4 separate regions of the Homo sapiens genome follow, and all the other regions are linked to region 4. The links are contacts of gene promoters, found by promoter capture Hi-C in human tissues and cell types (Jung and others, 2019). All regions are on one chromosome and are shown on one strand. The core of a region is centred on a gene start or on the middle of the fragment in contact, and the rest is flanking DNA. Distances in the headings are between cores, read along the strand shown. Region 1 overlaps GSDME (gasdermin E). Region 2 overlaps GSDME (gasdermin E). Region 3 overlaps LOC124901820 (translation initiation factor IF-2-like). Region 4 holds the start of CCDC126 (coiled-coil domain containing 126).

The links. The method cuts DNA at HindIII sites, captures the fragments that hold promoters and counts their contacts. A contact is called where the count stands out against the background at its distance.
Region 1: a contact is called between a fragment that was not itself captured here and the fragment with the promoter of CCDC126 in region 4, in 1 of the 25 tissues and cell types used here (dorsolateral prefrontal cortex).
Region 2: a fragment that was not itself captured here is called in contact with the fragment with the promoter of CCDC126 in region 4 in 1 of the 25 tissues and cell types used here (mesenchymal stem cells).
Region 3: a fragment that was not itself captured here is called in contact with the fragment with the promoter of CCDC126 in region 4 in 1 of the 25 tissues and cell types used here (lymphoblastoid cells).

Annotation. Positions count from the first base shown.
Region 1 is chr7:24,698,795-24,701,820 of GRCh38, forward strand. It overlaps GSDME (gasdermin E), which reads right to left. Exons shown (of 10, transcript NM_001127453.2): 10 at 1-465. The coding sequence ends at 232. Among named protein-coding and RNA genes, the nearest start is that of GSDME, 57 kb to the right of the region's middle. RefSeq lists a silencer at 2,996-3,026. The HindIII fragment of the contact is 4,995 bases long and covers 1-3,026 here.
Region 2 is chr7:24,725,424-24,728,754 of GRCh38, forward strand. The region is part of intron 3 of GSDME (gasdermin E); the gene reads right to left. Among named protein-coding and RNA genes, the nearest start is that of GSDME, 30 kb to the right of the region's middle. RefSeq lists enhancers at 329-1,012, 1,013-1,694, 2,015-2,234, 3,105-3,214. The HindIII fragment of the contact is 4,307 bases long and covers 1-3,331 here.
Region 3 is chr7:24,759,698-24,763,089 of GRCh38, forward strand. All of the region lies in intron 1 of LOC124901820 (translation initiation factor IF-2-like), which reads right to left. It also overlaps a transcript of GSDME not described here. Among named protein-coding and RNA genes, the nearest start is that of GSDME, 3.9 kb to the left of the region's middle. The HindIII fragment of the contact is 6,376 bases long and covers 1-3,392 here.
Region 4 is chr7:23,596,132-23,599,295 of GRCh38, forward strand. It overlaps CCDC126 (coiled-coil domain containing 126), which reads left to right and starts at 1,251. Exons shown (of 4, transcript NM_138771.4): 1 at 1,251-1,474; 2 at 1,836-1,920. It overlaps LOC105375187 (a long non-coding RNA gene), which reads right to left and starts at 1,194. Exons shown (of 2, transcript XR_927098.2): 1 at 986-1,194. RefSeq lists a silencer at 1,493-1,732. The HindIII fragment of the contact is 2,823 bases long and covers 461-3,164 here.

The sequences.
Region 1 (3,026 bases), core at 339-2,838, 1.1 Mb after region 4:
GAACCTAACTCAGATGCTGGGTCACCAGCACAGGAGGGCCTCTGATAAGGAAAACTGTTTAAAGAGTACCTGGTGGCTAAAAGTCAGGTCATTCATCATGCAAAATGTCACCACTTCTTAAACTGTTCTGTAAATTCATTTCATTGGTCAACTTTTAACGTGCATATGACCTTTAACAGTTCTGAAAAATAGCCTTGGCCAGTAACACGTACTTCTAGTTCACATATGACATCATGAATGTTCTCTGCCTAAAGCACAGAGTCCATTCAGGGTTATACAAAGAAGCAGTGGGAAGACTTTAGAGTCCTTCAGAATGACAGCTTTCACAGATGACTTCAGTCTCTCCAGACTAATGTCAGCTGAGGCAAACAAGCGCTGCACAATCCCAAACCTTTCTGTATCTTTCAGGGGAGTCAAGGTTGGGTCTTCAAGATCAGATACTCCATCATCAGACAGAGCACGAAGCTGAAATGACACATTTAAACAAATTCACTTTTAAAATGTCCTAAAAAATCCACATTGGATAGTAATGCACTTGTAGGTAATTCTGGGGGAAAAAACTTTTTGAGATGGAGTCTTGCTCTGTCGTCCAGGCTGGAGTGCAGTGGCGTGATCTCGGCTCACTGCAACCTCCAGCTCCCAGGTTCAAGCGATTCTTTTGCCTCAGCCTCCCGAGTAGCTGGTACAGGTGTGCGCCACCATGCCCAGCTAATTTTTGTATTTTTAGTAGAGATGGGGTTTCACCGTGTTGGCCAGGCTGGTCTCAAATTCCTGACCTCAGGTGATCTGCCCACCTCGGCCTCCCAAAGTGCTGTGATTACAGACATGAGCCACCACGCCTGGCCAACTATGTCGTTTTTTAAATTTCCCCAAATAGAGCAGGAAAACCCTTGAGGTGTAACATGATATATTTGATCCAGGCCAGGACCTCAGGCCTGATTCTATCCAATTTGTCTAGTGTCCTCTGTCTGAATCCCTACTCTCCAAACTCTTTCTACTAGTCCCATTAACTCCAGTACATTAGAAAGGTTAGAATGTACTTTGGTCATATATGCAGTATGCTTAGTTTTTGTTTTACTGAAGATATTAGAACTTTCTTATATCTTTGCATGAACTCCTCAAAGGTAGGTACCATAGTTTAGTTTAATTATCCTTCCTGCCTCAAGAACCTTTTCCCTTGTTATTCCTTCTTCCAAATTTCCCTGTTGATCTCCCCTTCTCATCACTCAGTTGTCAGCTGAAATGCCACATTGAGGGCCTTTCCCAATCCCTTTCCATCTAGCTACCCCCAGCCCCAGAACTCAGCCTTATGTTACTCCATTATGTTGTATCCATAAACTTACTATATCTGAAGTAATCTGCTTGATAGTGTTTAGTCACCTTCCCTTATTTAACCCTAAGCTGCTCGTGAGAGCAGGGACCTTGTCTGCCGTGCCTACAACACAGACACTCAATGTGTTCTTCACCGAGGTCACTTTGGATGCTGCTCTAATTCCACTGCTCAACACATACTTGAAATATTTGATTTGCTTTTAGGGTCTTGATCTGTACCCGTAATATTTTACAAATCTTAAGCAATTACAAATTTACCAGTAGATTTCATTTTGAAACAGGCATTCAAGATCTGATTAATAATGTAAGTAGTAAAATTTTAAATTAAATTAAAAATGAAATAAGCCTAGAAAGTTTGCCTGAATTTTAAGAAATCTGAAGGGAATCCAAAAGAAAAAATTCCAGAAATTTCCTGAGCAGTGGTGACTATCTTGAAAGTCATGCAGCTTGTCCAGGTAGACTGAAGGGTAGCACTCACTGGAATGTAAAAGTACTTGTGGGTTTATTATCAAAATCAGCCTCACGAACCTTGTAGATTCGCCAAATACAACTCACACAATGTAACCACAGGCTTAACGTTACCATTAGGCTCAGACTGCAAACTATTGATTGTGCTTTAGAGAGTAGATTAGACCTGCTCTTTAAGCACAGCATCACACCCCAGTGAATTAAGGAGGAGCCCCACTGGCGCAGGCTGGAGACTGTCAACAGCATGGCAGGCTCCCTGTCCTTACCACCTGGTGGATGAGAGCTGTGCAGCATTCGGCTTTCTTTTCTAAATATCCACCACCCCCTTTGCCCACAGGCATTTCTAGGTATAAGGGGGAAACGGTGACCCAGAGGGTGGTGGAGTGAAGTTAACATTCTCTACTGATTCTAACTCACCCTTTCACCAGTTCTTGGAAATGTGTTAGTGTATCTGGCACTGTACTCCCAAAAGCCCTTCAGAAAGCCTCTCAAAGTTACCCTGGCTACTAGACAAGAAAAGACAGGGCTGCAGATGGATTTTGTGCCGTTTTAAGTAAATCCCTTAAAGAAACATGACGCTCAAATTCCTTCAGGAGGCAGACACCTCGATGTCTTAAATAGAGCTATTGCAAATCTGAGGGGAGGTATGTGAAGATACCCAGGAAGGTCTTTACAGAAAAAGGAGGTCTTTGACTATGTTGAGCAGTGCCAAAAGGCAGAATGTGCAGAAGCAGAATACCTTCCATTCTGAACTCCGAATGTGTTCTGGCTGCTGCTCTTAGAACACCAACAGAGCAGAACTTGGGGGTAATACAAATGTCCTAGAGCTGATCTGCAGGGAGGAGGACAGCTAAGTGTGAGTTTGTCACAGAAGGGGTTAGATAACAGTTAGATAACATGGGCTTGGCAGGATTTTCTTTTTATTTGCTTCAGTTGCAGTTGATGAATCTGTAAATACTTGGGAAGGACTAACTTAGTAAATGCTGAGCACTCAGTTGCTGCAAGAGGAGCTGAGATCTGAAAGCAGAGCTGTTGTTTTGCTCATCATTGCATACAATTAGAATAATGGCACGTATTGTTTCCATAACCAGACTGTGCCACCAGCCTTTACCCTCAGCTGGCCCAGGACACACATGCTGGCACATTTTCAAGTAGTTCCATTTTTGCAGTCAGTGGACAAGCATGCATGTTCCTCTGGGCCTGTGGAATCTTTCAGTTGTGATACC
Region 2 (3,331 bases), core at 589-3,088, 1.1 Mb after region 4:
GGAGGACGAGCCGCAGACAAAACTCCTCAGATACCAAGTTAAACAAGGAAGGGGTTTATTCGGCCGGGAGCGTCGGCAAGACTCCTGTCTCAAGAGCCAAGCTCTTGAGTGAGCAATTCCTGTCCCGTTTAAGGGCTCACAACTCTAAGGGGGTGCGCATGAGAGGGTCGTGATCGATTGAGCAAGCAGTGGGTACGTGACTGGGGGCTGCATGCTCTGCTAATCAGATTGGAACAAAATAGGATGGGGATTTTCACAGTGCTTTTCTATACAGTGTCTGTAATGTATAGATAACATAACTGATTAGGTCAGGGGTCAATCTTTAACGACCAGGCCCAGGGTGTGACGCCGGGCTGTCTGCTTGTGGATTTCATTTCTGCCTTTTAGTTTTTACTTTTTCTTTCTTTGGAGGCAGAAATTGGGCATAAGACAATATGAGGGGTGGTCCCCTCCCTTAAGGAAGTGGACCCTCAAAGCAATTAAGAGCATGGCTCCATGGACACAGGACAGGAGTTGGATACAAGACGCGGATACATTCAAGACAGCAGCTACATGATACAGGACGAGAGATGGCTGGAAAAGGAGACCAGGCAGGAGCTGCTGGGAGGCGGCAGGCAGAGATGGAGGGAGGGAAGCGTGGCTCAGAGCCCAGCGTGGTTGCTGGGGACCAGAGCAGCCCAGCAGGAAGGGAGGCTCCAGCTCTTCCAGCATCCATCAGCTCCCCAGGCCCAGCCCTAATGAAGCCGCCTCCTCTCCCAGCCTGAAGCTTTAATTTCCATTTTCTCTGCTTCTAAGACTTTCAAGAGCCAAAATGCAAACTCACAGAGGAGAAACCCAGAGACAACTTTTAAAAGTCTGACAATATCCAAAAGGAGGGAAGCAGGTTTCTTTACCAAAGCATAAAGGAGGTCCCGGGGATGCCTCCTGCAGAGACACAGGAGGGCGAGCTTTGTCATGCAGACCCCACACTTCAACTCTCCTTCATTCATCTCCACAAATACCTGAGTTCTGCTATGCTCCAGGCACCAGGCCAGATGCAAGTTTCTCAGGGAAGAGGCCAAGGCAGCCACCACTAGCAGGGTCCTCTTACACAAAAACCCTTGATAGTAACAATGGTAGGCCGGGCGCGGTGGCTCACGCCTGTTATCCCAGCACTTTGGGAGGCCGAGGCGGGCGGATCACGAGGTCAGGAGATCGAGACCATCCTGGTTAATATGGTGAAACCCCGTCTCTACTAAAAATACAAAAAATCAGCCCGGCATAGTCCTGGCTACTCGGGAGGCTGAGGCAGAAGAATGGCGTTAACCCGGGAGGTGGAACTTGCAGTGAGCCGAGATCGCCCACTGCACTCCAGCCCGGGGGACAGAGCGAGACTCCGTCTCAAAAAAAAAAAAAAAAAACCAATGGCCTCGAGGAAGAGTTTCCAATGGAAACCCTGGGGAGCCTGGTAAGGCTCTCCAAACCCCAGGGGACATCATGACAGAGCAGGAGCTTTTGTTGAGTCTGCTGTGGAGAAATTATAAAACTAGAAGGGACCCAAGGGGATTATCTAGCTCTGGGCAGAAACTCAGGTTCATCTTTATTTTCACCTTGATTAATCCATCAGCTATTACTGCCTGGCTGTAGGAAAAGGATTCTAAGGCTGAGTGTGGGCTGGAAGACAGTAAGGAGGAAGAAAGCTGTGATTAAGTGGCAGTGTCTGCTTGGACATGGGAGGGGGATGGCCCTGATCACCTAGATCTAACCCAGTGTCTCTGCTCATTAGTGAAGAATGTGCCCCAGAGAGGTGACAGGCCCACCTGAACCACATGGCCTGTTAGTGGCAGTGCCAAAATCAGGAACTGCATCTTCTGACTCTGAGACCAGTGTGCTTTTCCACTACACTCTTCTAAAGAACAACAAAAAGTGAAAGGTACAAATGCAGACTGAGGAAATGGTGCAGTACTGCCAGAGCTGGTTTCAACATCTCCCCAGAAACAGAGATGGGGACATGACAGAGAGCCAAAAGGTGGTGGCCAGCCTGCTGCTCAAGGAATATTAAGCAAGAATTACTAACCCACAGAAACAGAGATATGTATTGATGATAAAGGCTTTAGTAAATCCAGAACTTCTCCCAAGGGTTTTGATTTATTGGCTAAAACTACAGTTTACAAAGGATCACACGTGTGTTCACACACCAGCTGTAGAGTAGGAAAATTAGGTCCACAGACATTGCCTGTAAACTCCTTGGCTTTGCCTTTGTGACATTTCATTAAGTGGGAAAGTCTGCTTCTCTCTTGATAACCAACCTCCTCCAGTCTACAGAGATGGCAGAGTTTTATTTCAGTAACTGCCCCCCTAAAATCCTGGAACACACACACCATTGCCTCCTTCATCTGCCGATTTCCCCTCCAAGGGAGGCTCCATTCACCCTTTTCAAAGACTGTAAGCTTTTTGACAACGAAGGCAGGAGAGCAGCGCTCAAACCACATCTGTGCTGCTTCTGCAGGAACTGTCCCCAGCATCCTGTACCGGGAAGGCTGCAAAACCCTCCCACACTACGAGTCGGGGGTGCCACTAGCTGCCGTCCCCAGCACTGTTCGGGAGCTAGGGGGGCTGTAACGGGAGGAAGAGACAGGGTGCACCCAGCCCTGCCAATGAGTCTTGATTTGTCTCTCGGCCATTCTTGGTCACTCCGTTTTTCTTATCAGGAATCGGGGGCAATTCTGGCCAATGAGACCTGAGGAAAATCTGTTAGGGGTTCTCAAGTTTTTCTCCCTCTTAAAAAGGGACACAAAGAAGAGGCCACTTTTCTGCCTCTGGACCTTTTGTCTGCAATGTGGCTGCCATTTAGGGACCAAGAGAACTTGAGCTGCCAGGACAGATGGCGGCTGCCACAGGGGCCCACAGAGCCACCGAACTGACCTTCTGCCGTTAACCATTCAGTCAACCGGGACGCACCCTCTTCGAGATGTTTTCTTATGTGAGATAATAACAAATGTTCTTTGCAACCAGACACCCTAACTGGTATATGAAGTGACCATCATCCTTATTTCAGAAAGCAACAAGAAGCACGAAGAACTCAGAAGCCAAGGGGCTGGGTGAGAATGCAGCTCAGCACCATCCACCCTCGAAGCTCTGCGCCCATCTGCCTCTCCCTCCTGAACCTTCCTGGGCCCTGCATACAGAAGGCGCTTAATGCATGCTTGATTGTTAAAGAACTGGCAGTCTTTCTGCTCCATCCCATGAGAGCTTCCCAGAGTCAGGAAGTGGATCCTCTTGGAAACGAAAGCAGCCGCCCACTGTCTCCCCCGCAGGTACTAGCAGTCCCCATTTCAACCACGTTTCATAA
Region 3 (3,392 bases), core at 536-3,035, 1.2 Mb after region 4:
CAGAAAATAAGAAGTGCAGAAGTGCAGTAGGGGTCCCCCCACCCAAGCAGTGTAGGAGCATGGTCTGTGTTGGGAGAGAGGGATGACTTGTGTTCAAGATCTCACCTGACCCCAGTCTGCTGCTCTCCCTGTCCAATGGTGGGGGGATGAAAAGGTTCTGGCACAGCCATAACTTTTTTAAAAAAATAATTGTGCTTATTATTATTGTTAAATAGACTATTTGAAGATTTCAGATGAACATATACAACATGGAAACTTTTAGCCCAATTGGAAAAAAGTAAATAAAAAGAAAACGTGGAACTCCAATCTTCTTATTCCATATAGATATATCCCCTTTGAGGAAATGGAGGGCTATGGAAAGAAAATCTCACAGGAGATCAATTGGAGTGGTCCTAATGATGATGGTAAGCAGCATCTGCTTTCAAAAAGATTCGTTATATAAACTATGTTTCAACTTACAGAACTTCTGAAACACATCTATTGGGTGTCGTGTATTTCCTACCCTATGCCTAGATTCTTGCTAAGGAAAAATACGCAAAGGGCAGCAAAAGTCAATAAAACTCATTACCGGGATTTATTTCGTAAATGAATACACCAATAAACCAGCTCTGCATGGCTGCCATAATTGCTTCCTAGTTCCTTGAGAACCACATTTGGAGACCTGGACGCTTTCAGATTAATAACCTCTGCAAAGGAGAGAAAAACAGACTTTGGATCCATCAGATTTGGGTAGAATCCAGCCTACCACTTACCAGCTGAGTGACTTTAGGCAAATTGTATAACTTCCCATTTAAAAATTACTTATAACATTGTCATGAGATTATATAAAGTACTCAGCCCATAGTAGCACTCAATAAAAATTAGTTTCCTTGCCTTTATTAATTACTTTTCAGCTAAAGTTGCCTTTAAATTAAGACTACATTTTTCACATATGCATAATTTTGCCTTTTACCATATTGATTGCTTCCCAGAGGAACATAGCTACTAACATAAATTAAAATAAAATTTGGCATACATTGATATATATTTTAAAACTGATTTCATTTACCTCCCTAAATCCCAAAAGTGCTTTTTAAACTGGAGACTGTATTGCCAATGCATATTACTAATTACTGCTTTAAAATAAAAAGCTTTATAGAGGGTTAAATATGGTCCAGAATTAAATCTGTTTCTCTTGGTGTCCCAACCTTCTCTTATTCAATTGCAAGGCACGGATACAGATAGGAGAAGAACTGAAATTACTTGGCAGCTAGCAAATGATCAACCAATATTGTCAAAATCAAAAGTCTCAATGCAAATATTATTGGACAAACAAGGAAATGTGAAATAATTTGCTGTCCCAATTATCAACTGCTGTATAACAAACTACCCCAAAACTTAGTGGCTTGAAACAACAACCACTTTACTATATCTCACAATTTTGTAGGTTAGGGCTTTGAGCAGGGCTCAGCTGAGTGACTCTTCTGTTCCATGTGCACTGACTGGGGTCACTCAGTGGAATTTAGCTGGTGAAGGTGAATGGCCTGGTTTGGAGGGTCCTGGATAACTTCACCCATGTCTTTGCCCATTCGGTTTGCTGTAATAAAATACCATAGACTGAGTGGCTTATAAACAACAGGACTTTATTTCTCACAGTTCTGGAGGCTGAGAGAGAAGTCCAAGATGAAGGCATCAGCAGATTCGATGTCTGGTGAGATCCTGCTTCCTAGTTCATAGATAGTGACTTCTCAATGTGTCCACACCTGGTGGAAGGGAAGAACAAACAAAACAAGTCCCTAAGTCTCTTATAAGGGCACTAATCCCATTGATGAGGGTTCCACCTCATGACCTAATCACATCCCAAAGGCCCCACCTCCTGAAACTATCACATTGGTGATTAAGTTTCAACATATGGCTTTGGGGGAACACAAACATTCAGACCATAGCATCTCATGTCTAGTGCACTGGCAGGGATGCCTTGAGGGTGGGACTGAACTTGAGGGTTATCAACCAGAGCCCTACATGTGGCCTCTTCATCATGGTGGTTTTTGGGAAGTCAGACTTCTTATAGTGGAGGCTCAGGGCTCCAAAAGCAAATGTTCAAGAAAAAGAAACAAGGCAGAAGCTAGAAGTCTTATGACATAATCTCTAAACACCCAGAACGTAATTTCCACAACAAGCCTAGATTCAAAGATAGGGGTGGTATATTCTACCTCTCAATGGGAGAAACAGCAAAGAATTTCCAGACATCTTCTATCTGCCGCCCTTGTTTTCATGAAAGAAAGTGGCATTACAGGATAGGCGCAGTGGCTTCTGTCTGTATTCCCAACACTTTGAGAGGCTGAGGTGGGTAGATCAGTTGAGCCCAGGAGTTAGAGAGCAGCCTGGCCAACATGGTGAAACCCCATCTGTACTAAAAATGCAAAAAATTAGCCAGTGTGATGGTGCATACCTGTAGTCCCAGCTACTCGGGAGGCTGATGCAGGAGAATCACCTGAGCCTGGGAAGTTGAGGGTGCAGTGAGCTGTGATCGTGCCACTGTACTCCAGCCTGGGTGACAGAAACTGTGTGTCAAAAAAAAAAAAAAAGCCATAAAAGAAAGTGGCATTACATAAACAAAGTTAGTAAAAACTTCTGTATTGTTTGTCCATTGTTCATGGAGAAACATACGTTATTATCAGCATTAAGGAAATTTGTGATGAATACCAGTAGTCAGCCACCAGATGTCCAATTTACAGAAATATTCAAAATAATATGATCCAGAGATATACAAACTTTTTTCATCTGATTATCGTTATTTTTAAATATTGTCCAGTATCCAGGTGAGCTATACCCAGCATAGAGAAGTAAAGCCCATGCACCTAACATCTTTTTAACAAATATTTATTAGTGACCTACTAGGTGCTGGGTGCCATATTAGGTACTGAGGATATAAGGTGACCAACGAGAATGTGCTTCATGCCCTCCAGGTCTGTGGGCTTTGTAGTATAGCGGGAAAGGCAGACAGATAAACAATAAGGATAGAGGATGAGAAGTACAATGATCAGCTGTCCTTGTTAGGGTAAGCTAACTGCTAAAATGAAGTCCCAAATTATAATGGCTCAAATACAATAGTAGCTTATTTCCTACTCGGTAAACAGTCTGACTAAGGTACTTCTAGGTTTTGGGTGGGGTGGGTGGGGAGGAAGAACCACAGTCCTCATTCCTTCAGGAATCAGGCTGGGGGAGGCTCAGCTCCAGGTTGTTGAGGTTGCCCTGAGCATGGACACCTCGGGCAGATAGATAAGGAAAGAACCCGGAGACTCCCTCATGGGAGATTTTTATGGGAGCGGCACTTTCGGGTACAGGATGCATTCCAACACTCCCAGTGGATGCCTGAAATGGAGGATGGCACCAAACCCAGCCAGGATCAA
Region 4 (3,164 bases), core at 1-2,500:
AGTTTTCCTCCTCCCACTCCTTCTCCTCTTCTTTTTTTTTCTTCCTCCTCTTCCTCATGAATGCTTGTCTTTGCTCTTCCATAACATTTTGAATTAGCTTGTCAAGTTTCTCACACATACACAGAAATTTATTGAGATTTTGTTGGGAATTGCACTGGCTCTGTAGGTAGGTTTGGAGAGACTTGGCATTTTTCAGTATTGACTCTTCCAATTTATGAACATGTTACATCTTTATTTAGGTCTTCTTCAGTGTCTTCCAATGTTTTCTTCAGGCAGGTTTTGCATTTCTTTGATCGATTTATTCCTAGGTACTTGATATTTGTTTGGAGCTGTTGGAAATGGTATCTTTAAAAAAATTATCTTTTTTACTAGCATATATAAATAAATATTGATTTTTTAAAATATGATTTTTGTATCTATTAACCTTGTTAAAAACTTTTATTGTTAACAGTTTATCTGCAGATTGTTTTGAAGTGCCACAAACAATTTTTTTTTTTTTTTGAGACGGAGTTCTGCTCTTGTTGCCCAGGCTGGAGTGCAGTGGCGCGATATCAGCTCACTGCAACCTCCGCCTCCTGGGTTCAAGCAATTCTCCCGCCTCAGCTCCCCGAGAGGCTGGAATTACAGGCGTCCGCCACCTCGCCCTGCTAAGTTCGTATCTGTAGTAGAGACGGGGTTTCACCATGTTGGCCAGGCTGGTCTCGAATTCCCGACCTCAGGTGATCCTCCCGTCTTGGCCTCACAAACTGCTGGGATTACAGGCATGAGCCAACGGCGCCCGGCCTCCACGTACATAATTACATAATCTATGAAAAAATAATTTTGTTTCTTCCTATTTAATCTTCAATCCTTTTATTTTTCTTGCCTCACTCCACTGGCTAAGGACCTTTGGCTTCAATAATGGGTAGTCTCATCTGTAGCACACTTAATCATCACTAAGCTTTCCCAGCCTCAGGTCAATAGTATTAGGAGGTTGGTTCCTCACCGGAGGGTCGGGAACAAGACGCCAGAGCCCTTCTTCCAGCGCCTGCAGCGAGTTAAGGCCGAGGGTATGCCTCTGGCGGGCTCATCTTCCAACACAGAAGACCCCGCCGCCCTCTCTGGTTGCCGCGCAGCTGCGTCGTTCTGACCCAGGGTAGGTGCAGGGCGGCTGGAAGCACGTGCCGCCGCTTCCTCATTCTGGGACTACATCCCCCACAATGCCGCGCGCCGCGGGCGGCTGGCCCCCGAGTGCGGGAAGGGCCGGCAGGGAGGCGGAGCGGAAGCCGAGTGCGAGGGACGAGCGGAGTAAAATCTCCACAAGCTGGGAACAAACCTCGTCCCAACTCCCACCCACCGGCGTTTCTCCAGCTCGATCTGGAGGCTGCTTCGCCAGTGTGGGACGCAGCTGACGCCCGCTTATTAGCTCTCGCTGCGTCGCCCCGGCTCAGAAGCTCCGTGGCGGCGGCGACCGTGACGAGAAGCCCACGGCCAGGTAATGAGTAAGGGGCGAGTCCGCCAGCCGGGCCCGCACCTCTCGCGCGCCCCTCAGCCTAGCCGGCCGCTCCTCCCCCGCCGCGCCCCCGTCCCCGGTCCCCGCCCCGCTAGGGCCGCTGCTGCGGAAACCCGGCTTAGGAACGGGCCGGCAGCCTCCGGCCGCGGCCGGGAAGGCTCTTTGTCCCTTCCTTTGGGCCGCGTCTCTGCCCCTCCGCGTCTGACAGCCGCGGCGCCTCGGCTCGGGCGGAGAGCCGAGCGTGGCTGGGGCTGCGCGAGTCGAGCGGGGCGGGCTTGGTCCGGAGCTGCGGGATGTAGATCCCGGGCGGCACCGCACTCACTTCTTTTTCTGTTTTTGACAGCTCAGTTCTCTTCTACTTTGGGAGAGAGAGAAAGTCAGATGCCCCTTTTAAACTCCCTCTTCAAAACTCATCTCCTGGGTGACTGGTAAGGATGAACTTAAACTGCCGTGTTGATTGTTGACTGTGACGGTAATGAGAATGGCTCAGCCAGCTAGGGTTCGAATCCTGCCTGGGTTTCTCTCACTGCCTGCCTTGGTGATCTTGGTTACTTAAAGGCTCTAAGCTTGAGTTTTCTCATCCATCAAAACACACACCTGTAAGTGGTTAGAATTAGGAATATAGACCTATAACGTCATTAGTTCTTCATTTGATGAAAAGATCCTTTGTGATACTTTCATTAGCTATGACTGAAGTGACCGAAGTGGCCTCTGGACTTGAGTTTTGTGCTTTTGTTTGTTTAATCATCCTGGGTTGTGTGTTCTTCACTTTATCTTAAACCTAACCAAAGGATTCATTAAAATATGCCGTCTTCCTAATTTTTGCTGTTTTAAGATGGCTGAGAATGTTCTTAGGAAATTGATGACTCTGCTTTTCTGTGGATCAGCTTCAGAGGTACAAGTATTCACCTCTCCCCTCCCCCTCAGGTGTGTCCTTTGGGAATCCTTAGAGGCGCTAAGTGTTTGTTTCGTCAGAGTAGGCATCCAGGTATTTTACAGTCCTGCCTCTGGGCTTCACCATATTTAACCTGGGTCAACTTTTTTCTACATCTGTCTGCATCTTCTCACTGATTAATAATTTCTCACTCTAAAATGTGTTGCAAAAATACTTGTTTTGAGGAAAATGTTTCTATGTTGGTGTTATTTAGTGCAGTGTAGGACAGAGAGTAATGGCTACGGAAATAGGAGTCCTTAGTTTTGTCCTTGCTCTGTCACTATCTGTGTAACCTGAGATTACTTTGTGGTCCTCAATGTCCTCATCTCTAAAATAGTGAATTGGTCTGATTCCAAGGACTCTTCTAGCTCAGACTTTCAATGATAAAGGTTTTTAGAGGTTTTTTTTTAAATGTGGAAACAAAATTTGTGTAAACCCTTTTAGTCATTTGTGTTCTTAGTGTTTCTTCCTGCTTCAGGTCATATAATTCTTTCAAACTACCTTGAAAGAAGGAATACATTTAAGAGAACAAGAAAGCTGCCAGAAATAAGAATCTCTACCAGCCAGTTATCACTCTCTCATGAGCTGCACAGTTTCTCTGCATTTTTGACATGCTTTGTTCTCTTTCTCCCTACTCTGTATCTTTTGCTCATAGCCCCTATACCTGTTGTGCCTGATTCTTCATAACTTTAGCTTGTCAATCCCCTCATCCAACTTTATTATTTATTTTCATGACTT